Regions from separate parts of the Homo sapiens genome. Here regions 1, 2, 4 and 5 are each linked to region 3. The links are contacts of gene promoters, found by promoter capture Hi-C in blood cells and fetal thymus (Javierre and others, 2016). All regions are on one chromosome and are shown on one strand. Each heading gives the region's core, a stretch centred on a gene start or on the middle of the fragment in contact. The rest is flanking DNA. Distances are from core to core; before and after follow the strand shown.

What was found. The method cuts DNA at HindIII sites, captures the fragments that hold promoters and counts their contacts. A CHiCAGO score of 5 or more calls a contact.
Region 1: a contact is called between a fragment that was not itself captured here and the fragment with the promoter of RAMAC in region 3, in 13 of 17 cell types (total B cells, total CD8 T cells, non-activated CD4 T cells and 10 more). The highest score is 10.4, in total B cells.
Region 2: a fragment that was not itself captured here is called in contact with the fragment with the promoter of RAMAC in region 3 in 1 of 17 cell types (neutrophils); the score reaches 5.6 in neutrophils.
Region 4: a contact is called between a fragment that was not itself captured here and the fragment with the promoter of RAMAC in region 3, in 17 of 17 cell types (megakaryocytes, M2 macrophages, M0 macrophages and 14 more). The highest score is 36.7, in megakaryocytes.
Region 5: a contact is called between a fragment that was not itself captured here and the fragment with the promoter of RAMAC in region 3, in 1 of 17 cell types (erythroblasts). The highest score is 5.3, in erythroblasts.

What each region holds. Positions count from the first base shown.
Region 1 is chr15:82,739,307-82,744,492 of GRCh38, reverse strand. It overlaps the pseudogene ACTG1P17. Among named protein-coding and RNA genes, the nearest start is that of SNHG21, 8.7 kb to the left of the region's middle. The HindIII fragment of the contact is 255 bases long and covers 2,192-2,446 here.
Region 2 is chr15:83,119,339-83,124,013 of GRCh38, reverse strand. It overlaps TM6SF1 (transmembrane 6 superfamily member 1), which reads right to left. Exons shown (of 10, transcript NM_023003.5): 4 at 4,333-4,436; 5 at 2,011-2,093; 6 at 1,136-1,257. It also overlaps a transcript of HDGFL3 not described here. Among named protein-coding and RNA genes, the nearest start is that of TM6SF1, 14 kb to the right of the region's middle. The HindIII fragment of the contact is 2,076 bases long and covers 1,909-3,984 here.
Region 3 is chr15:82,984,203-82,988,873 of GRCh38, reverse strand. RAMAC (RNA guanine-7 methyltransferase activating subunit) reads right to left here and starts at 2,664. Exons shown (of 4, transcript NM_031452.4): 1 at 2,505-2,664; 2 at 1,490-1,538. It also overlaps a transcript of HOMER2 not described here. The HindIII fragment of the contact is 1,767 bases long and covers 1,482-3,248 here.
Region 4 is chr15:82,842,573-82,847,767 of GRCh38, reverse strand. It overlaps a transcript of HOMER2 not described here. Among named protein-coding and RNA genes, the nearest start is that of WHAMM, 36 kb to the right of the region's middle. The HindIII fragment of the contact is 1,426 bases long and covers 777-2,202 here.
Region 5 is chr15:83,194,812-83,199,838 of GRCh38, reverse strand. All of the region lies in intron 1 of HDGFL3 (HDGF like 3), which reads left to right. Among named protein-coding and RNA genes, the nearest start is that of HDGFL3, 10 kb to the left of the region's middle. The HindIII fragment of the contact is 4,252 bases long and covers 1-3,552 here.

The sequences.
Region 1 (5,186 bases), core at 1,070-3,569, 240 kb after region 3:
GCCCGGCCTTTTTTTTTTTTTTTTTTTTTTTTGAGATGGAGTCTTACTCTGTCGCCCAGGCTAGAGGGCGGTGGCGCAGTCTTGGCTCACTGCAACCTCCACCTCCCAGGTTCAAGCGATTCTCCTGCCTCAGCCTCCTAGGTAGTTTGGATTACAGGTGCCTGCCACCATGCCTGGCTCATTTTTTGTATTTTTAATAGAGACGGGGTTTCAACATGTTGGCCAGGCTGGTCTTGAACTCCTGACCTCAGATGATCCACCCGCCTTGGCCTCCCAAAGTGCTAAGATTACAGGTGTGAGCTACTGCACCTGGCCCCCTCTAGTTTCTTTCGGGATTTTTTTCTTTATCTTTGATTTTCTGTAGTTTGAAAATTATATGCCTGGTTGCAGTTTTCTGTTTTTGTTTTTTATATTTATCTGCTTAGTGTTCTCTGAGCTTCCTGGATCTGTAGTTTGGTGTCTGACATTAATTTGGAGAAACTCTCAAGTCATTATTCTTTCAAACAATATGAATAATTTATTCTATTCCTTTCTTTTCTCTCCTTCTGGTATTCATAATATGCATATGTTATATCTTCTGTAGTTGTTCCATAGTTTTTGGATAGTCTCTTCTGTTTGTTTGTTTTTTTTTTGTCTTTGTTCTCTTTTATTGCCAGTTTGAAAGCTTCCTATTGGCTGGACATGGTGGTTTATACCTGTAATCCCAACACTTTGAGAGGCCAAGGCAGGTGGATTGCCTGAGCTCAGGAGTTCAAGACCAGCCTGGGCAACACGGTGAAATCCCGTCTCTACTAAAATACAAAAAATTAACCGGGTGTGGTGGTGTATGCCTGTAGTCCCAGCCTGGGCAACATGGTGAAACCCCATCTCTACTAAAAATACAAAAAATTAGCCGGGCGTGGCATCATGCGCCTGTAGTCCCAGCTACTTGGGAAGCTGAAGCAGGAGAATTGCTTGAACCTGGGAGGTGGAGGTTGCAGTGAGCTGAGATCACGCCACTTCACTCCAGCCCAGGCAATGAAGTGAGACTCCATCTCAAAAAAAAAAAAAAAAAAGAAAAAAAAGGTTTCTGTTGATATATCATCATATATCATATCTTTCCTCACCATGTCCAGTCTATTAGCCCATCAAAGACATTCTTCATTTTCTATTCACAGTGTTTTTTATCTCTTGCATTTTTTTTGGTTCTTTTTTGTTTTTATTTTATTTTGTTTATTTATTTATTTTGGAGATAGAGCCTCACTGTTACCCAGGCTGGAATGCAGTGGCATGATCTCGGCTCACTGCAACCTCTGTTTCCTGGGTCTGGGTTCAAGAGATTCTTGTGCCTCAGCCTCACAAGAAGCTGGGACTACAGGCACGCACCACCACCCCCTGCTAATTTTTTTGTATTTTTAGTAGAGACAGGGTTTCGCCATGTTGCCCAGGCTGGTCTCGAACTCCTGAGCTCAGGCAATCTGCCCCACTTCGGCCTCCCAAAGTGTTAGGATTATAGGTGTAAGCCACTGCTCCCAGCGTCTTTTTGGTTCTTTCTTAGGATTTCCATCTCTCTGTTTACACTGACCATCTGTTCTTGCATGCTGTCTACTTTACCCATTAAAGCTGTTAGTATATTAATCAAAGTTGTTTAAAATTTCTTGTCTAATAATTCCAACATTCCTGCCATGTCTGGTTCTGATGCTTGCTCTGTCTCTTCAAAATGTGTGTTTTGCCTTTTAGTTTGCCTTGTAATTTTTTCTTCATAGCTGGACAGGATGTACCAGGGAAAAGGAACTGCTGCAAATAGGCCTTTAGTAATGTGGGGGTAAGGTGTGGGGAGAGGGAAAGTATTCCTCTATGAACCCTATGATTAGGTCTCAGTCTTTTAGTGAGCATGTGCTTCTGGAATGTGAACTTTACAAGTGCTTCTCAGTTTTTTTCTTCCCCCTTAGGTGGGACAAGATGGCCAGAGTGGGCTGGCGTTGGGCATTTTTCCCTTCTCCCAGGCCAGTTAGGCTCTGATAAAACTCCAGCCATTTAGGCTCTGATTAAATATTTCTCCCGAGGGCAGACTTTGTTAAGAACAGCATGCTCTGGCATGTTTCGAAATGGTTCTTTTTCTTCTTCTCCTGCTAGAAGCATGACAAGATTTTTCTCTAATATTTATTGTGAGAACCTGGTCAAACTCTTGGAGGTAAAACTCACAGAAGCTTGGGTTCTCCCTCCCCTGTTTCTGGTTTCTTCTGGAATTTTTGACTCTCAGACTTGTCTACACTTGCCTCTGGCAATTCAATTACAGTTCATGTTTTTCTGCCCTGGCATTGGTTCCTTTGTGGAGATTTCTGCTCTGGGTAGCTTGTGACTTTTGTACATACCTGTCTGCCTCTCCAATTTTGGGGATAGTGGTTTGCCCTGTGACCTCACTTTTCTTCTGGATTTAAGAAAAATTATGTCAGTTCGTTAAGCTTTTCTTTCTTTTTTTTTTTTCTGAGACAAAGTGTTGCTCTGTTGCCCAGGGTGGAGTGCAGTGGCGTGATCTCACCCATCTTTATTTCACATTGGAAGTATTCCTCAAATGTCTGGAGTGGGGGGGTCTTGACTGTTTATATTTTTTAATGAAGTAATAAGTGGATTACGAGCTCTCTTGTGTGGAACTTTTCTGATGGCCAAGATGATGGGACAGGAATGCTGACATTTTACTGTAATGGGTAGAATGCAGGGGATTTTCTACGGAGCCCTTAGATTTATTTCCAGAATAACGTTTCAGCGTGATGTGTGAATGTATGGGAAATTCTGGATGGTCTGTGTTCCTCCTATCACACCTTCACCCTGGGGGTAGATTCTTGGCTGTAAGGCATTCTGCATGCAGAGGTGGAAGGGAAGGAAAACTGTTTCATATGTGGAATCTTGGCCTTATATCTCATTCCTGTACTCAGTTGTCTCTGATATTTCCTGGTTCTGGACCCTTCTAGCATTCCGTAGTGTGAATTGTTTTTTTCCTGGGGTATATCTTCCACCCTCTGCAGTTTCTTCTGCTTCCCCCCCGCATCAGTATCATTCCTTCATCAGCTATCTTCCAAAATTTCTTTGAAATCTCTGATCTACTAATGATCTTTTCCCCATTCTCTTGTTTAGATCTTTATGTTTCTTTTCCCATTCTCTTATTTATATCTTTATGTCTCTTTTTATTTCTTAAGTATGATTTTAATGAAACTTAGGAGGGTGAGATGATAAATCATGTTTTCAATTTTAACAAGGCAAAAACAAGCTCATCAAGCATTCACTGGTTGGGCGCTGTGGCTCACACCTGTAATCTCAGCACTTTGGGAGGCCGAGGTAGGGCAGATTGCCTGAGCTCAGTAGTTCAAGACTAGCCTGGCCAACATGGTGAAACCCCATCTCTACTAAAAATACAAAAATTAGCCAGGCGTGGTGGCTCACGCCTGTAATCCCAGCACTTTGGGAGGCTGAGGTAGGGCAGATTGCCTGAGCTCAGGAGTTCAAGACCAGCCTGGCCAAGATGGTGAAACCCCATCTCTACTAAAAATACAAAAATTAGCCAGGTGTGGTGTTGGGCGCCTGTAATCCCAGCTACTCGGGAGGCTGAGGCAGGGAGAATGCTTGAACCCGGGAGGTGGAGGTTGCAGTGAGCCTAGATCGCACCACTGCGCTCCAGCCTGGGTGTCAGAGTGAGACTGTCTCAAAAAAAAAAAAAAAAAAGAAAAGAGTTCACTGATTAAATTATGGTCTATTCATACAGTAGAATACTAGACATTCATTTAAAATGATGCAAGCAGGCTGGGCGCGGAGGCTTACACCTGTAATCCCAGCACTTTGGGAGGCCGAGGCAGGTGGATCACCAGAGGTCAGGAGTTCGAGACCAGCCTGACCAACATGGAGAAACGCCATCTCTATTAAAAATACAAAATTAGCCAGGGGTGGTGACGCATGCCTGTAATCCCAGCTACTCGGGAGGCTGAGGCAGGAGAATTGCTTGAACCCAAGAGGCAGAGGTTGCGGTGAGCCGAGATTGTGCCATTGCACTCCAGCCTGGGCAACAAAAGTGAAACTCTGTCTCAAAAAAATAAATAAAATAAATAAAATGATGCAAGCAGCTGGGCACAGTGGCTCACACCTGTAATCCTAGCACTTTGGGAGGCCAAGGCAGGTGGATTGCCTGAGCTCAGAAGTTCGAGACCACCCTAGGGAACATGGTGAAACCCGGTCTCTATTAAAAATACAAAAAATTAGCCGGGTGTGGCGTTGTGCATCTGTAATCCTAGCTACTTAGGAGGCTGAGACAGGAGACTCGCTTGAACCCGGGAGGCAGAGGTTGCAGTGAGCCGAGATCACGCCATTGCACTCCAGCCTGGGTGACAGAGCAAGACTCCCTCTCAAAAAAAAAAAAAAAAAAGGCCACGCACGGTGGCTCACACCTGTAATCCCAGCACTTTGGGAGGCCAAGGTGGGCAGATCACTTGAGGTCGGGAGTTTGAGACCAGCCTGGCCAACATGGAGAAACCCCATCCCTAGTAAAAATACAGAAAATTAGCCAGGCATGGTGGCGCACGCCTGTAATCCCAGCTACTTGGGAGGCTGAGGCAGGAAAATTGCTTGAACCCAGGAGGCAGAGGTTGCGGTGAGCTGAGATCACACCATTGCACTCCAGCCTGGGCAACAAGAGTGAGACTCCATCTCAAAAATAAAAAAGATGGAAGCATGTATTTGTATTTTGAGCATCAATAACTAGGTAAGAGAAGTGCATTTTTAAAACCAATGAGTTATAAAAATTCAAATTAGATATATATACATGACTAAGGGGTAGGGGGGTCCAGTTGTAACAATGGCAAGTTCTAAGAGATAAAATCCTAAGGTCTTTGTTTTTATTTCTATGGACATCGCTGTGTCTTCTTGACTCTTTTATAAGTAGCATGTTTTTAATAATCAGAATATATATAAATCTATTTTTGAAGTAATATAATGACTAGCCTTGTACATACAATTTTGCATACATCTTGACTTCCTTAGAATTAGTACCCAGGTTTAACTTATTTAGTTAAAAGAATAAATTTTTTTGAAACTTTACATACCTATTTTCAAATTTCCTCTTCAGAAGAAGTGCAAATACATATTTACCAGCATGTTGGACAATGCCACTTCCCTAGGCCCTCACTGGAACTTTTTAAATCCTTAGCCAGTTTGATCAG
Region 2 (4,675 bases), core at 1,697-4,196, 130 kb before region 3:
GTGTGATGATTTCCTGAAGATAGGGCTCTAGGAGCAGAATTATTGGGTTCCAGAATTATTAAGGTTGATAACATTGCCAAATTGCTTTGCAGAGCAATTCTGAATTTATGTTTCTGTCAGCACTGTATGACAATGCCTGCTTGGCCCTGGCTGTCACTGTGTTTTCACATTAAAAATAATGATAAGTAATTCTGCATGCCTCATGGCATACCTACTCTGTTGACACACTGACATGGAACCTTTAAAAGCAGTGGAGCTGGGACTAAGGGTGGACTGACTATTTGCTTTTTCTTTTTAACAGCCACCTCTTTCCTCAGAGGGAAGTTAGTACCAGCTGTCAGTGTGCCAGCCTGAGTTTACATAGAAGGTGTCTAAATGTTTACAAATGAAGTATTTGTCAATTAAAATGTATTTTAATGAATTATACTGAAAATCTTTTGTAAAATGAATAGTCGTATTCTGATTATCTCTAGTAATTCATATTTTCATATATCAGTTTTGCTTAAAAGATCTTGCTAAATGATCTAATACCTAGAAAAGTAAAAGAAACAGAGAGAAACTAGCTTAGAAATGAAGGCCTTAACAGAGTATCTGCCAGGCCAGTGCTGTTTCACCTTGACTACCTTGGCTGTGAATGGAAGGGAGGTGTCTCAGATGTCCTGTAGCCAGTCTCTATGGGCCTGGATCTCTGGAGTCAAGATTGTATGGCTGTGTAGACTACCTTGAGGAGCAGTATCCCTCCAGTGTCCTCTTGGGGTAGTAAATGCATAGGTGTCACAGAGGAACCCAGGTGTTCAACGTCCAGGCCATTAACAATCCTAGATGAACCACACACTATGGACTTCACTTGACACACTAATGCAGAATCTGATAGTTAGAGCCAGTGTGACCACTGGCACAGGAAGCTCCCCAAAGTATGGCCTTGCCAACAGAAGCAGATGTATTCAGACAGAAACAGACCTTCTTGCCTACATTAATTAATACGTAAGCTAATGCTACATAATCAAAACAGTCGCACTGTTTGGATGCCCCAAATGCTCCAGTCCACAGAGGCATGGTTCAATTCAGTGGCCAGTGGATGCGAAAGAACCCTATGAGTTTGAGAACAGGGTACATCAAAGCTTAATAAAATCACCTTTGAGGGGTAATTATAATTTTCTGATGGCTGATTATAGATTCTGAAACCAGCCCAGACAGGAAGACAAGTATATGGTATGCTTAAGAAAAAAGCAGGGCAAATTCGTGTTCCATACTTCCCTATTTAAAAGAGAGAAAGAGAAAGAAGTTACCAAAAGCATATCTAACACAAGTAATATTTAGGATACCTCCCCATCTCAGGTCATCTAAAATTTTGCTATGGGCCAGACAATATTTTTAATGAGGCCAAATTAAAAAGGTCAATTTAAAATACTAGATGTGTATTAACAGGCATGTCCTATCTACAGTAATCTGCTTGAGCCCAGGAGATCAAGGCTGCAGTGAGCTATGGCTGTACCACTGCAAGCCAGCCTGGGCAACAGAGTGAGATCCTGTCTCAAAAAATACATCTAGATAGGTATCTATATATGTTTGTATATATCTATCTCCCTATATCTATATCTATCTATCTATCTATCTACCTATATATCCTGATTTCCTGCATACATTAATAATGTACTTGTAATTTCCAAGTACATTTTTGGAGTTCTCATAGTGTGTCAGGAGTTAACATATTTGCACACTAAATATAGCCATAAACACCATACTCACTCCCTCAAGATCCTTCTAAAAAAACAGGAATCCCTGATAACTTGACTGCCAAATTGTTCAATGCACACATCTGAAAATTGCTCAAAGCACTTCTTAAAAAGTACTTTTTTTAAAGGTGAGAAAAAGGAATTATTCTGCAAAACAGGTTTTTAGTAAGCTTGGAATCACTTGGTTCTATTATAACTAAAAGAGCTTCTCTATTTAAAAACAAGCCCCATTGTTTTAGAAAAGGAAAGTGAACTTTAAGATAAAGTTTCTTACCTACAATGTTTCCTGGCACAAAAACAACAACACTCATAATAATAGATCCAACCCAATATAGGCCAATGGTTCTATAAGTTTCCCTGTAACAACAACAACAAAAAAATCTTGACTTGGTATGTTTGTCTTAGAATACTAAGCAAAAAATGATCTTCAATATTATTTTGTATTCAAACTAGTAAAGTACATCAATCAAAACATATTGAATTGAGAGGAATAAATCAAACACAAGGAGCCCTGGTTATGTAACTTCATTGCCATGTGATATACTATAGAACCTTCTTCGTGTCCTTTTAAATAGGAAATTACGCCTGCTATGTCTTCTGTTAAACTACAACATGATCATCCCTGCCACAGGACTCCTGCATTTCCCTATTGTGTGTGAAACTCAACAGCATGAAAGGAAAAAGAAAGTTGAAAGAAGAAATGAAATTGGATCCATATTTTTAATCATTATAAGTATGAGTTATACTTACAATGATAATGTTAAATGGACTTTTTCTGGGGTCACAGAATTTTGGCCAAAGCCCCAAAGGTGAAGACAAGTGACATGTACCCCATGTTGCAAAGGAGCTGCTAGACATATACCCCAAATCTTCAATGCTGACAAAAACTTCCTTCAGGCCGAGCATGGTGGCTCATGCCTGTAATCCCAGCACTTTGAGAAGCTGAGGTGGGCAGATCACTTGAGGTCAGGAGTTTGAAACCAGCCTGGCCAACATGGTGAAACGCCATCTCTACTAAAAGTACAAAAAAAAAAAAAAAATTAGCTGGGCATGGTGGCATGCACCTGTAATTCCAGCTACTTGGGAGGCTGAGGCAGGAGAAATGGTTGAACCTGGGAGGCAGAGGTTACAGCGAGCCAAGATCGCACCACTGCACTCCAGCCTGGGTGACAGAGCGAGACTCCGTCTCAAAATAAAAAAAAAAAGTTCCTTCAATTGATAACCCCAATAACCCAAACTCCACACTATGTAACAGGCTATGAGAAATTCAAAAGGAAATTCTCTGAAGGGAAACGAGAATACTGTGTGCGTCCTGCCCCACCCCCGCCCTCAAGCCAAATGTAACCAGACCCCAAGAGGCCCATTCATAATGACTGGGATTATAAGCAGGAGAACAGATAAGAATGAGCTGGAGCCGGGCACGGTGGTTCACGCCTGTAATCCCAGCACTTTGGGAGGCTGAGGCGGGCAGATCACCAGAGGTCAGGAGTTTGAGACCAGCCTGGCCAACATGGTGAAAAAAATGTTTAGATTTGTGTACTAAAAATACAAAATTTGCGGGTATAGTGACACACGCCTGTAGTCCCAGCTGAGGCCTGAGAATCGCTTGAACCTGGGAGGCGGAGATTGCAGTGAGCTGAGATTGTGCCATTGCACTCCAGCCTGTCTCAAAAAAAAAAAAAAAAAAAAAGAATTAGCTGGAGCTGACCTTGAGTGCATGTTGGGAGTGAGGGAGATACTTGGGTAAACTACATTTCAACCTTGTATGGGGCAAGAATGCATGACTTTCTGTAACCCAGAAGCAAGTGGAGGCCTGAGAAGATGGCCGGACTTGAAATGTTTTGAAAAGACCCCTCCCCAAAGGGTGTACCTTCTGGGTTACAGGGGCCCCAGCAGAAAAAAAGCTGTGGGTGTGCCACCATGGGCAGAAATTCAGCCCAAGAGCACGTCGTTCACTTCAGGGATTAGTGCAATGCAGAAGCTCCTGTGGTTGGGGTCTCTAAAGAACTCACATGTGTGCCTCCCAAGACCAAGCTAGCATATCATGATGGGGGTACCAATACCCAAAAACCAGCACCTTTCACATCAGACTCGGCTCCTGTTCCTTTAATCCCTTGTACATACACATCCACTGCCAAGGGGCCAGCCGCAGAGTGAGACAGGAGGAGTGAACGGACAAGCCATGTAGCCAAGCCTTAGTGCGAGCCAAGCCGCAGAGCTGTGCCTGATCTGGGGAAGGACAGAAGCTTTGAACCGAAATGAGATTGCTGTTTGGAAATTTTGAAGTTTTGAAATGAAGTTTAAGATGTGCTTAGCTTTAATTGCTGAAAATAAAAATTATTCTTGTAAGACAACATAATCAGAAAGCTTAAAGGGTCTGCCCGAGCTGTCACCATGCTAGGGAGCAATTCAGAAGGACATATTCAAAAGGCAGTGGTACAAGGAGGATAAAGCCACGTCTGACGTGCACCCATGGAACTTATATTCATGTCCAGTATACCTGCTTGTGTATTTGCCTCTATGCATAACGTTTCCTTACATACCCGCTTATCGGTTGCTAAGGTGGCAAAGGCACACACCAGGTGAACTGACTTACTCCCATGCTATGGCTGCCACCATCACCAGGTACATCAGATAATGAGCAGAGCCATCCCAGTAGCAGATCATGTGCCCATATGCGGTGTTCAGATACGGTTCACCCTAAAGAAAGCATTAAAAAGAAGTCCACTTTAAATAAGACCTGTAAATGCAGAACATCAGACCTGTATTGCAAGTAAAATAAAACAGCAGAACTAACTTGTGTTCATCTGCTAAGATGAAACTATTTCTTCAAAATTGGTAGGAACATGAAAATACAACTTTACGCTGGAGCTGCCAAAACCAGGGTCTGGCCACAGAGGATGGAATTAGAGAATGCCTGGCCAATTGGCCCATGATGC
Region 3 (4,671 bases), core at 1,415-3,914:
ATTTTAGATATTGAATTCAACATTTTTTTTTTTTTTTTGAGACAGGGTCTCTCACTTTGTCACCCAGGCTGGAGCACAGCGGCACAACCTCGGGTCACTGCAGCCTTGACTTCCCTGGCTCAAACAATCCTCCCACCTCAGCCTCCCAAGTTGCTGGAACTACAGGTGCATGCCACCCACACCCGGCTAATTTTCGTATTTTTTGAAGAGACGGGATCTCGCCATGTTGCCTAGGCTGGAAGTCTTGGGCTTCGGTGATCCTCCTGCCTTGGCTTCCCAAAGTGCTGGGATTACAGGCATGAGCCACTGTGCCTGGCCCGAATTATTTTTCTTACTTTATTAACTTCCAATAAAAGGTTTGGGACAAAAAGATGTGACAATGGAAGCTATTGTGATAACTTCTTCATTAGTCTGCCTTTCCTCCAAACATATGCAAATATTTGTAACATTTATACTACCTACTTTAACCCCAACAAAATTAAACGGAAATTATTGTTGCATTGCAAGAAACAATATGTAGATTTTTTCTTTTTCCTTTTCCCCCAGACGGAGTCTTGCTCTGTCACCCAGAGTTGGAGTGCAATGGCGCGATCTCAGCACACTGCAACCTCTGCCTCCCAGGTTCAAGCAATTCTCCTGCCTCAGCCTCCCAAGTAGCTGGGATTACAGGCACGCGCCACCACACCCAGCTAATTTTTGCATTTTTAGTAGAGATGGGGTTTTGTTGGCCAGGCGGGTCTTGAACTCCTGACCTCATAATCCGCCCGCTTTGGCCTCCCAAAGTCCTGGGATTACAGGTATGAGCCACTGCGCCCAGCCTTTTTTTTTTTTTTTTTTTGAGACGGAGTTTCACTCTTGTTGCCCAGGCTAGAGTGCAATGGCGCGATCTCGGCTCACTGCAATCTCTGCCTCTCGAATTCAAGTGATTCTCCTGTCTCTGCCTCCCGAATAGCTGGGATTACAGGTGCACGCCCGCTCGCTAATTTTTGTATTTTTAGTAGAGACAGGGTTTCATCATGTTGGCCAGGCTGATCTTGAACTCCTGACCTCAGGTGATCTGCCTGCCTCAGCCTCCCAAAGTACTGGGATAACAGGCATAAGCCACCGCGCCCAGCCTGACACTCTTATCTTTCAGGCTATTGCTCTTAGTATGCTTTATCAAATACCAAATATCAGACTTTCAATGTGTCTGGGATTGGCAAACTATATCAAATTCTCAAATCCAAGGAATGAGTTTTAAATAAATTCAGCTAATTAAAAATCATGTCTAGAATTCTAGTGGGATCACAGAAATCACTAAAAAGATGACCCATACCTAATCCAGATGGGCAGTAAAAATCATAAGGCAAGGAAAAGGTGCTACTCCATTTTTATGTTCTCATATGTTCTCCCACGACTCCCCACCCATACTCATGTAAACAAATATCAACTGTATTATTACTGAGAACGAAATTTAAATAGAATGTTAATCGACCCAAGCTTTACTTACCCCAAAGGTTTGAGGCAGCTGTACTGCTTAATGTTTAGGTTGTTTAAATCTGTGGGAGGAAAAAAACAAACTTGACTTTATTTAAGGAAACTCTCAAAAGGTGTTTGTAGGGGAGGGTGGCGCATAAGAGTCTTATTCAAGGAAAGAATTGGAGTAAAAGTGCTCTAAGGCCAGGCGCGGTGGCTCACCTCTGTAATCCCAACACTTTGGGAGGCCGAGGCGGGCAGATCACGAAGTCAAGAGATCGAGACCAGCCTGGCTAACACGGTGAAACCTCGTCTCTCCTAAAAATAGAAAAAATTAGCCAGGCGTGGTGGCATGTGCCTGTAGTCCCAGCTACTCGGGAGGCTGAGGCAGGAGAATCGCTTGAACTTGGGAGGCGGAGATCGCGCCACTGCACTCCAGCCTGGGCGACAGAGCGAGACTCCGTCTCAAAAAAAAAACAAAAAACAAACCAAAAAAACGCTCTAAAGACTTCCAAAGCTAATATTCCAAAGAGGGAACTGGTTCTCAAGAGCAAGAAGCTACAAGATTTGTCCTCTGGGCCTTCAAAAGCAAAATAGTTCAAGTATGAATACAAACTTCATAAAGTATGTATGTTCTTTTAGGGTAAGCCTTTCAGATTTGTACTTGAATACTGCTAATTTATTCACCACAAATAAAACCACAAAGAACTTTGGCTGCGGGCGACTAACCCTGGAAATAACCAACCAGAATGGGGTTTCGCTGCCCTGGGAGGTGAGCCCGGGGAACAGACGAAGATGCAGACTGAAAACAACTGCGTTTTCCAGTCCGTCCTCAAGGCACATCACAGCTTGCTTACCAAGGTTCTGGCAGATTTGCTCCCTTCCGAAGCACCTTATACCTCCAGAAGTGAGGGAAATTATGGGCCGTGAGAAGTAAACGGGCTTCGGTCTAGCAAAGAGTACAGATCACCGCACAGGGGGAGGACACCTCGCTGGCCACCCAGCTCGGCCGCCCCGCTCCCTCCTCCCGGGCGTCCGGGGCGACTCACCCGCCAAGGGCTATGTCAATCCAGCTCAGGCCGAACCCCGCCGGCGAGACACTGAGAAGCCCAGGAGAGGTGGCCTCTGGTCCACTACACCGTGGAACTCCAGACCACTCCAGTTCTCCAATGTAACCGAGCGCCTTCCTCTAAAATCCGACAACCACCTGACTTCCGCTTCCGGCGGGCTAAAGTTGAGGGTGCCTGTCAAGTCTCGCGATAACTAAGGCTCTCCGTGTGGATCGCTTTGCAACAGATCGCTTCTTCAAATGCTGGCACAACGCCCAGAGCTCGATGAGGTGTGGGCAAGTAGCTGTCTAAAGGTGGATGATGCCCTCCATGCACTTTCAGCCTGCCTGGTGGCTGGGCAGTCGAAAACGTCGCCGTCTATTAAGCTCCTTTGATTGGGAGCAGGTGACGGGTAGAGACGGAAGTTCTGGGAATCACCGGAGAAGGGAGGGAAGGGCTCCTTCCGGCCGCCTGCTCCCGGAGTCTTCGTGGGGAACGTGAGGTGAGAGCAGGCGGTGAAGAGTAGACACGACTGATGACTTCAGGGATGCTACACCTTTCTCTCCTGCCTGGGCAAGCCTCGGTAGTAAGATTTCCGTAGTCCGTTTTGTATGTGGTTTTGCAGAAACATACCCCCTCTCTGCTCCAGCTTCAGTCGTCAGTATCCAGCTACTTCCAAGAGTCTTGCCCATGTCTTGTGGGATGTTCAGCAAATGTATAAACACTTAATATCCCGACAAAGCTTGGCCTCTTCCCTCCCAAATTACTTCCCAGGCTATGCACCCGTTTTTGTTAATACAACCAACTTGGAAACTTTGATGTCAGATTTGATGCCCTTTCTTGCCTTTCCATGCTCCAATCACTTGCCAAGTCCTGTCGATTGTACCCCTACAGTAATTCTTGCATCTTCTTACCCACTGCCCCCACCTAATCAACGTTCTCATTACCATCCCCTGCACGGTGTCAGTGCAGTACCTTTCTCATTGATGTCCTGCCTCTAGCATCACTCTGCTACTAGCCTATCTTACATATACCTGCTATAGGTGTAGCCATCTTCAAGCACCACCGTGATCCAAAATAGCTGATCCAATGGCTCTCTGTTGCCTGTAGATTAAAGGTCAAGTTTATTAACTTGGATTCAAAACTTTTTTTATTTTCTGCTGTTCCCCTTCCATTCTCCCTCAGTCAGTGGTAAACCAGACCCTGTGAAGTACGTCATGCATAAATTATTACATTTTTATAGATTGCTCATGTCCCTTGCATGAAATACCTGTCTCTCCCCCTCATCTCCAAATGTTGAAATTCTTTCCATTATTTAAAGCTTTAGAAAGTGACATCTCTACCTAGAAATAATTTTTCTTTCTATTGAGAGTCCATCATATTTCTGGAATTTCATGTATTTAGTTATTACCACTTTCTAACTTCGAACTAAAATTATTTACTTGCAAGTCTTTCCCCCTATTAAACTGTAAACAGGCCTTTATCTAATGCATTTCTACATTCTGGAGTGTATAACATTGTGCTTTTTTTGTTTGTTTGTTTGTTTGTTTCTTTGACACAGGGTCTCATTCTGTTGCCCAGGCTGGAGTGCAGTGACGTGGTCATGGCATACTGCAGCCTCGACTTCCTGGGCTCAGGCGATCCTCTCAGCTCAGCCTCCGGAGAGCTGGGACTACAGGTGCACACCACCACCCTGCTAATTTTTTGTATTTTTTGTAGAGATGGAATTTTGCAGTATTGCCCAGTCTGGTCTCGAACTCTGGGCTCAAGCAGTCCACCCACCTCAGCCTCCCAAAGGGCTGGGATTACAGGCCTGAGCCGTGGAGCCCAGCCCCACATTGTGCTTTTTCCATGACGTTAGCACTGAATAAATGTTTGTGGAATGAATGATAGAACTATGAATATTCCAAGTAATGTTTTAGAAACATTAACCTAGCAAAAGTATATAGGATAGTATGGATGAGGGAATAGGATAGTCTTGGTGTTGGGTAGTAAAGGTAAGAGGTGTAACAACCAAGGTTACAATAATTGAATAAAAGGCCGGGTGCGGTGGCTCACGCCTGTAATCCCAGCACTTTGGGAGGTCGAGGCGGGTGGATCATGAGGTCAGGAGATCAAGACCATCCTGGCTAACACGGTGAAACCCTGTCTCTACTAAGTATACATA
Region 4 (5,195 bases), core at 240-2,739, 140 kb after region 3:
CTGGGAGCAGTGGACACTGGGTTCCAAACACCTTCCGCTGGGGTCTTCAGATGACCTCTGCCTTTATCAGGTGACTTATGAATCTAGAAAGAGCCCGCTTGACTGACAAGAGAATGCTCAGGTGACATGCATAGAATAGTTACTGAAGCCACTTGTACATTCTGATAGCAGTGACTTTAGAAAACTCCAGAAGTGGAGGTGTAGAAAATGTTGGAAGAGCCATTTCCACAGTGGGCTGCTGTGCAGTTGAGACCCATGATCCCAGTTCACCAAGCACTGAAGAGTGTGGTGAGCATCCTGTGGGCAGCAGGTGAGGAACTTGGATTCCTCCTGCTGTGTGTCCAGCTCTACAGCTGTTGCAACCCTGGAGCTAAGAGTAGTAAGGACTCCCTTAAAGGGAAAGGTAAGTTGGGCTTGGCCGTGAAAGCACAACAGCTTTTACAAAAGCACTGAACTTTCCATTCCTTCTGCTTTTCTCTGAAGATCTCAGTGTCTTTTCATTTACTTTCTTTTAAAATAGTGGCCCTGGAGCAACCTGGACGGTGTTCCCTTGAGCTGGTGTGACGTGCCCTCGTTTATTCTGACATCCAGCCCAGTCTCAGTACTGTTGTCATAACCTTACGCCAGACTCAGGCAGAATGTAAGCCATTCACTCGTGAGCATCGCAGCCGCTTGTGCTGCCTGGAAGCTGCAGGGCCAGGACTGCATTTTCAGTTTGCAATTGAGGTCTCCTGATTTTGGTGTTTCCAAGACTGGCTGCTATACCTTGATAAGCTTTCCTTCTGCCTCCATGAAACCTGGTGTCTAAAAAAGATCAACTAAAACTTGGAACCCTTTAACCAAGAGGACCTTTAAAAATAACCTTTCATTCCAGTCAAGACCCAGCTGGATGCATTTTAAAGTTGGGAGTGGCGAGGAAGCCTTCCTAGTGCCGCCCGGGGAATGTAAAACCACCAGAGCAACAGGTTGGGACAGTATGGTCAGGCCTTGGAGGGAAAGAGAACCAGTATCCACACAAGACCTCGAACTTGTGTGGCCCCTCAGTTTCATCTCTCCTGCCTGCCATCACATTAGACTTTAATTGGGTGAGAGAACAGGGCAGAGACTGTCACCTGCATTTTGCAGATGGGAAGTAGAGACAGAGAAAGTGACACGCCCAGGGTCACCCAGCGGTGACCAGCAGCGTGGACTCTGCATCCAGGTCTCCTGGACCTTGATGCAGTATCTTTTGAGACATGCCACTCTAGTCCCTTTGGTGACCCGTGGGTGCCAAGAGAAAATAATTCTTATATCCTGATAAGAGCATATTACAATTATATTATTTCAATATGTGTCCACAGCAAAGGACAGTTTACAAAAATGTGAATCCGAATGACATTTAGGAATGTTTGTTATAAATGATAAGTTCCACTTTGGAATGATTCTGGTTTTGCAGGAATCTTTCCAAGAAAGTTGGTTAAAATGATGTCTCTGCCTGTGAGGCCAGTTCTATGGAAAACAAACACACCCTGAGTTCTTTATTGATGGCTTTAGTGGAGGCAGAGCAGTATGTTCAAAACAAGTGGGAGGCCCTGAGATCGCAGGAATGGAAACAGAGTTCTGGCTGGGGGTGGCCTGTCCACTGCCCGCCCCTTCCTGGAGATGCACTCCTTTCTGGCTTTCTGGGGAGGGAGCAGCCTTGCTCAGTGGTGGGAGCAGCTTGAACGGGACCTGATCAACACCCAGGAAGACTGTGCACAGAGGGCAGTTGGTCTCCAGCCTGCAGGCTCCATGAGCACAGCCTTGATGGTGGTGGGCAGGCGCCTGCCTGCTGTGGACTACATTTGATGCAAAACATCAAGTAAAGGGTGGAGCGTAATACAGTGAATATGCCTCCCAGAAACATCATGCTCTGCCTATTTTAACAGGGCTCTTTTTCTTTAGAAAAGTCTCCTTCTCTATAGAAACCAGGGACAATTTTGGATGAGAGCCAACCACAGGACGCGCTGGGGACGTTATGGTGGGACCTCACATGTGGCCAGGTGCACCTTTGGGAAGAAGGCAGACGTGATGTGACTTAGCACAGGCACTCAAAAGAGGCAGCCACTGGTCTTTGCTAATATCCAGAAGTGGATTGTTTGTTCCATTCATCCTTCTAGAAGCTAAATTCTTTCATTGCCTTGAGACATCACTAGATTTTGAAGCACTTGCAAACTAGAAGCTTGCAAGATCAATGTCCATGTATATTTTTAAAGATATGCATGCTTTAAAAGGACCCTAATTTCTGAGTACATGGCTTCCCCAAAGAAACAGTATATATTCTGGAGATGATGGGGGTTTTGGCATGGAGAGGGACTCCTGTCTAGTCTAGAAAATGTTACTTACATGCCTCTTCCATGTACCGATCTCAAGAATATGGGTTTTCTAGTTGGCTTTAAACACTACCCAGGCAGGAAGGTGGCTTTGGTAAGAATTTTGAGCTGGATGAAATGTTCTAGTGAACTTACGACTGTGTATGTGCGCACGCGTGTGTGTGTGTGTGTGTGTGTGTGTGTGTGTGTGTGTGTGTGAAGAAACAGCAAAAGGGGAAGTGGGAGAAACAGTAAGGAAGCGTTTTTAATTAAAAATATGTATACCTAAGAGGAGACTTTATTTTCTATTTCTGGTGGTGGTGATCTATGTTCTGGAATCCATTTACCAGAAGTTTGTGGATCTTTTGTTTGAAGTGGAATTGTTCAGTGCCCTACTCTCTTTGACGGTGCAGAGCCTTGCGGCAAAGTGTTCTCCTGGGCCCTAGAGACCCCCAGGGCACCTGGCAGGAGCCCGTAAACCACGGCAGAGTCCCAAGTGGTGCATGTTTTGGCGAGTGATGGGCAGGACTGATGATTCACAGCTGTGAGGCTGTGCTATTGTTTTTACCCTCTTGTACTGCTTTTAATAGGAAGTCCCGACTTTACGTCAGTTGTGAGAGCAGCGTCTTATGATGTGACAGGCAAGAAGACATTCCTTGCATCAAATATAAGAGTTTAATGAGAAGAGTGGAGTGGATAAGTGAACTCTCCCAAGAGTACTGTTTTTTGTTTCCCTTTTTAAATGCTTTCTTGGTACATAAATAATATAATACTTTTTTTAAAGAAATTCCAGATGAGTGGGAAAAAAACCAATCACCTGTTATTACACTATCTGATTATAACCACTGTTAACATTTCAGTTTTTATCTTTTCAGACTTTTTTCTATGCATCTGTGTGTGTTTTATTACTTTTTCCATGAAATATAATCATATTATACATACTGTTTTATAACTTTTATCCCTTTTAATGCTATATTGTGAATAGATTTCTATATCAGTAAATATGTAATTACATTATTTTTAACCTCTATGTAGGTTGTACCTTGGATACTTAGGTTGTTTCCAATTTTTTTACTGTTGTAGTCAAGGACATAATGAAGTTCTTCTAACATCCTTGCGAACTTTTCAGAATATTGACTTAGGGTAATTTTCTGAAGTTATCACTGGCTCAAAAGTACGCGCCTCCCTATCTGCGGCTCCTTTCCTTCTGAGGCATACAGGACTTCACCCTCCATCCCCCTTGTACTCATTCAGGGTCCTATGACTAATTCTGGCCAATGAAATGTGAGCACAGGTGACACATGAAGCTCCAGACAGACACTGAAATGCCCATGAGCAGTTCCGCAGTGTCTGCCTTCCCTTCCCTCAGCAAATGCTGATGTCCCAGGGACAGAGCCTCTGTCAAGCCTGGATCCCTGAGTGACTACGTGGAGCAGCCCCCTTCTCCCTTCATGTTACCCTCACCTGCCACCCTGCATGGACGGGTAGCATGAATAAAAAAAATAAACCTTAGGTGTTAAACACTGGGGTTTCAGGGTTAATTGGTTAACTGCAGCATAACATATCCTGTTGCAACAATAAAAAAGAATGCACATTTTTAGGACTTGTAATATGTATTGCCTCAAATTGCCTTCCAGAAAGACAGACCCAATTATACTCCCACCCACAGTGTGTGAGTGTGTACTGCTTCCTCTTTAACACTGGAGTTACCCTGGGGACAGAGAGCTAAAAAAAATATTTTTTTGGTTAAAATGTAACCCTTTAAGGTGTTCAGCAGTATCATTGATTTCTAAGAGGTTTATTTCATAAACATTGTAAAACAAAATTTTAAGTTGCACGTATGGCTTTTTAAAAACGTTTAGACATTTAAAAAAACACCTTTTAGTCAAGTTTATCTGTTACTTTTTTTTTTTTTTTTAATGGTTGCTACCTATGCCGTCATGCTTATGCAGGTCTTTCCAATTCTTTTTTTTTTTTTTTTTTTTTTTTTTTTTTGAGACGGGGTCCACCCTGGCCCCCAGGCTGGAGTGCAGTGGCGTGATCTCAGCTCACTGCAACCTGCGCCTCCCGGGTTCAAGCGATTCTCATGTGTCAACCTCCCTCCTGAGTAGCTGGGACTACAAGTGTATGCCACCACGCCCAGGTAACTTTTTGTTTTTAGTAGAGATGGGTTTCGCCATGTTGCCTAGGCTGGTCTCGAACTCCTGAACTCAGGCAATCCACACGCCTTGGCCTCCCAAAGTGCTGGAATTACAGGTGTGAGCCACCAAGCCCGGCGAGGTCTTCCCAATTCTGATGGCAAGGTTGTATAAATATTCACCACTATCTTATTCTTGTACTTTTATTATTTCTTTCTAAACAGTTAAATCTGTGATCTGGCTGGGCGTGTTGGCTCTTGCCTGTAATCCCAACACTTTGGGTCGCCAAGGTGGAAGGATCACTTGAGTCCAGGCATTTGAGGTTACAGTGAGCTTTGATGGCACCGGTGCACTCCAGCCTGGGGAACAGAGCAAGACCCTGTCTCTAAAAAAAATTTTAAAAACCTCTGATCTATCTGGAATGTATTTTCTAAATTACCCCAACACTGTTTATTGGGAAGTCTGTCCTTTATTCTATATGAAATCCCATTTTTGCCATACACCTAGTAGCCCTTCTGTTGGGTGCCAGGATAAGCACCCTGGCCTTGAGTGTGCTGTGAACTCTTTATTATGGGTTGTGATCTTCCTGCACATTCTAGCACTGGTACCACATTGTTTGGATCGCCATAGCTTTGGACTAAACTTCCCCATTAAACTTTTTCAAAACTTGCCTAGTATATTGTGCAGGCCGGGCATGGTGGCTCACGCCTGTAATCCCAGCACTTTG
Region 5 (5,027 bases), core at 177-2,676, 210 kb before region 3:
GAACTCCTGACCTCGTGATCCACCCGCCTCGGCCTCCCAAAGTGCTGGGATTACAGGTGTGAGCCCCTGCACCTGGCTTGTGATAGGCCATTTCTGGAAGTTCCACAGAGCTTCAGGATTTGGGGACAAGATAAACTGGACCACATTAACATACAAAAAGGGTCTAAGAATAAACTATTCTTCTCATTTGATCATTGAAACTCATATTCTGAATAGATTCTCTAAGTCTGAATATAGAGTCTATACAGCTACCCAGAAGTAGAGGTGTCAGTGTAGGGGAGTCAGTGGTAGCTGCCAGGTTGCCTGTATGGGGACTGGAAAATTTCTGATCACATAGTAATAACTTCTCAGTTTCTATTGCAAAATACGAGATGAGAGTGGTTTTAAGTGATAGTTTCAGTAGTGGTTAGCACATATAAAAATGAGTTTCACAGAAGATTAAGGATTTTTTATGATGTAGACAGGTCAGAAAATAAACTCAACTTCAGATCTCTATTTCCTTTTCCTTTGACACTGAAGTAGTACTTTATTATTAATAACATGTTTGATCTTGGAGGAAATGCTTGTTCAGAGGGAGTAGTAGTATAAATTCTCAGTTAATGCTTTTAGAGTTACCATATGTTGAATGGATTGAAAATTCCCTCTAGACCACTATTTGATGTTCCAAATGAAACCAACTAATTTAAAACAAGTTATAACTTCTCTTATCTCCTTCCCTGGACTACTACATGATGATGAAGTCAATAATTTTGAAAAAAATATTTAGACTTTGGAAATGAGTTGTTGTTGCTGATTGATTGCAGTCTAACGGCTTTCAGGTTTTTTGACTGTAACCTACAGTGAGAAATAAATATTAATTCCCATCCCAGTACGTGCACATGCATGCACACACACACTGCTGAGATTTTTATATGATCCGTTTGTCCCCTCCAAAACTCATGTTGAAATTTTATCCCCAGTGTGGTGGTGTTGGGAGGTGGGTTCTAGCGAGAGGTGTTTGGGTACTGTTGCTGGTCCTGTGGTAGTGAGTTCTCCCTCTCTGGAGACTAGATTAGTTCTCTGAGAATAGATTAGTTCTTGCAAGAGTGAGTTATAAAGCAAGTTTCTTCCTCCTGTTTGGTTGCTTTTCACGTGTCCACTTTCCCTTTGACCTTCTTTGCCATGTTTTGAGTTAGCACGTGGCCCTTACCAGAAGCTGAGCAGATGCTGGTACCATGCTTATACTTTCCAGCCTGCAGAACCATGAGCTAAATAAAGCCTGTTTTCTTTATAAATTACCCAGCCTCATTTATTCTGTTACAGCAACCCAAAATGGACTAAGATGCACCTATAACAAAAAAATTTTCAAGTTGTACTTACTATATGTGATACATTCTGATATTTTTATATTTCATTTTATGTAAAGTCAGGTTGCAACCTGCTAAATGAGTTTCATTACCTACAGTTTGAAAAACACTGGTCTGGTCAGTAGGCCAAAGGGAAAGTAATCTCTGTGAGTTGTATGCGTTTATATAGAACAGAAGTTGGATTTTTGAGAGGATGATTTGTTAACAGTCCTGAGCTTTTTATTCTGCTGTAGCCACAGTCTTACATGAAGGTCACACGAACATAAATTAAAGCAATAGTGTATTAGGTCATTGAACTATCCAGGCCAATATGTCCCCTGATCCCAAAAGGTTAGTTATATAGATTTTAATTCTCATCTTCCTTTTAATCTTTCAACTGCAAATGTATCAACAACTATATATATAATTAATTGGCTTCTTTTTTTTTTTTTTTTTTTTGAGACGGAGTCTCTCTCTGTCACCCCAGGCTGGAGTGCAGTAGTGTGTTCTTGGCTCACTGCAAGCTCTACCACCCTCCTCATCACCCCCTCCCCGCCGCCCCCAGGTTCTCCTGCCTCAGCCTCCCAATTAGCTGGGATTACAGGCGCACACCACCACACCCGGCTAATTTTTTAGATGTTTAGTAGAGATGGGGTTTTGCCATGTTGGGCAGGCTGGTCTCGAACTCCCAAAGTGCTGGGATTACAGGCGTGAGCCACCGTGCCCGGCCTATAATTGACTTCTTAAAGGTAGTAAGTTCCACACGTTTGCTGACTACCGAGTTATATACAGTGTTTGACAAACTAGTGTTCCGTGGCTGATGATATTGAGGCTGTGGAGTTTTCCTGGTTTGTGGGACTAGACTGTGGAGGTATCAAGCTATGACTGAAGATGATGAGCTTTTGTGAAGTTCAGAAACTTGAAGATAGGGCAGGTTTGTGGTACCCTTTAAAGTGGATGTAAAGTTTTTGCGATTAACATGTTTCTAATGGTTTTGTATTTCCTTTTTAATTATTTTGTCCTATCAAAAAGAGATTGCCTTGCTACTGTGAGATATAGCAATCTGAGTAGAGAGAACCTGGTATTGATGATAGGAAGGCATTCTTCAATTTTTTAAAAGAAACATTTCTGAAAAGTTACTGTAAGCACAGTTTTATGTCTTACATCTGGCTCACTGACTCACATAAAATATGTAAAATGTTATTAGAAACAGACCCACTATACTATTATAAATGGAAATATTTTGAAGTAAAAGAAATAAGATTAGATTAAATTTTATGATATGCCAGGTGTTCAAGAACTCTGGCTGTTCTCCAGCTCAGCACTGACCCTATCTTATGCTATGTGTGATGTCAGGGGAAGGACAAAGCCTTTGGTAGAGTTATGAAATATCATGGTCTCCATTCTTCGTTTTGAGTACACTCCTGGGATAAAGATTTATTTAACTACAAAGGATCAGGTAACCCAGAACAAATGTGTCCCTTATTTTTATATTGTAAAAGCAAATGACAAAAGTAGTGCAGCTTAACAAGAGTGGGCATGCCCTAGGTCAGCTCCTTGTACATCTTCCTCAGATGTTAGTAGATACATTTACTATTCTCTTCCAGCCTTTCCCCCTCATTTTCAGCAAATTGTTTTACCTTCATACTTCATAGAGAAAATAGATGCCAACAGGCTTTAACTGCACCTTCCTATCTTTTGCTTATAAATGAAAATCATCTCTCTCTAACCTTCTCTAATCCTCTTGGATTTTTGTTTCCCCCTTTTTTGTTAATCAATTCTATTTTTTTCTCTAAATCATTAATTTCTGATCTCATCTTCACTACCTTTCCCCAAGTATATTTTTCTTTTCTTCTATTTCAAACTTAATGAAATAAAGTCTTATTTAATTTTTTTGAAATCTTTTTGAAAATGAAAACTTTTAAAGCTAGTTTTCCTCAGGTCATATTTGGCTTCATGATGTAGATTTGAATAATTGGTGTTTTATAGTCATTTTCAAAATAGGTTTTGTGATTTTCATTTCTGAGTTGGCCCAAGAGATATTTAGGAGAGAATTTTAGGAATTATAACTGGCTAAAGAGTTTGTATGTAATGCTTTATTGTTTTTTAATATGGTTATCTTGTAGTCAGATTATGTATCCTTTTTAACTATTTTAATTCATTTAGTGTTCTTTTCATATGTGATCAACTTTTAAAAAATGGTTTTTGTATTCCTGAAAAGAAAGCTTCTTTAGGAGTCAATAAGTATATTGACTTAATAAATGAGTCAATAAGTATATTGACTTAATAAATAAGTCAATAAATATAATGGACAAATATAAATATATTGATATTTACTAATATATTTTTTAAAATTCTTAATGTTTATTTTTTGTCAACTACTCTCTCCAAAATGAAGAGGTATATAAATCTAACATATCTATTATATTTCTACATATCTGTCCCTTTTTTTGACCGTTTATTTAATAAATGTCAGGGCTTTATTTGGCACATAAATGTGTATAACTTGTAACTTCAGGATGGAGTCAAAATATAGTGATCTGCTATTTCATACTTTCTAGCACATAAGTTATAGTACTTCGTTGGATATTAGTTTTGTAACCTGTTTTCATTTTTGCTTTTATTTCACTAATACATCTTTATCCAGAATTTTACTCAAAACTTTTCTGTTTTGTTTTAAGATATAAGTATATGTAACTTAATTTTTTTAACCATTCCTAGGAGATTTTTTTCCCTTTTTTCATTCTTTGCCAAATTTTGTAAGAACCTGGTTTTCAGCATTTAAGCATATAACATTCTTAATTTCTGTCATTGAAACTTTTACTTTTTAAATTTTCAGTTATTTCCATGTGAAGGTAGAACTACGTGAATTGGGTAACATTAATGTTCTACCATTATAATCTCATTAGGTGTTTATTGAGTATCTCTTCTGGGTTAGTAACTGTGATAGACTTAGCATTATAAAAATTAATAAGACATGATTTTAACATTAAAGAGCTTGAGATAGATTAAGGAACAGAAACATGTACATAGAGGAATACAAGTGCAATATATGTAGATCTCGATGACAATATTTTTCTTTTATTTTTTTAAAAAGACACATTTATTCAGTATCATGATCAGACTATTACATTTAGCAATCAACAGCATGGGTGCAAAAAAAAATCTACATTAAAAAACCTTTGTTGGAATGTTTTACACTTTCCACATAACAGAAACTAAAATAACCTGTTATACAATTAGTCACAAATACAATCCTCAAGTTTTTTGCCCAATATTTGTCTGAAACATGATGACAGGATTTTTCTATCTTTGCAATTAGACTAAATGAACAAGAATGAGCCAAAACTGACTAAGAAAGAGCGTGGAAAAGAGAATACATGGAGACATTTTTAATTGGCAATTTATTACAAAAAGACTGGGTTTCAGCTTTTTTTGTCATACGATATTGAAATGTAGTTTTTGGAACTGTCTACATTATTTGTAATACAACTATATAGTCTTACCATTAGAAAGAGATAACACTGCATCCTGAGTGAGCCCTCCTTTACATTTTGTTCTATTGCTTTTTCCTTCCCTGCAGGCAATTTCAAAGTCTTTAATGAAAATTTAAATGATAGTACCTTCTGAGACATAAGATTTAAGATGATTTTCAGTGTTGTTTTCGAAGGGATGAGAAAGCTAAAATGCATTAATCTCTTT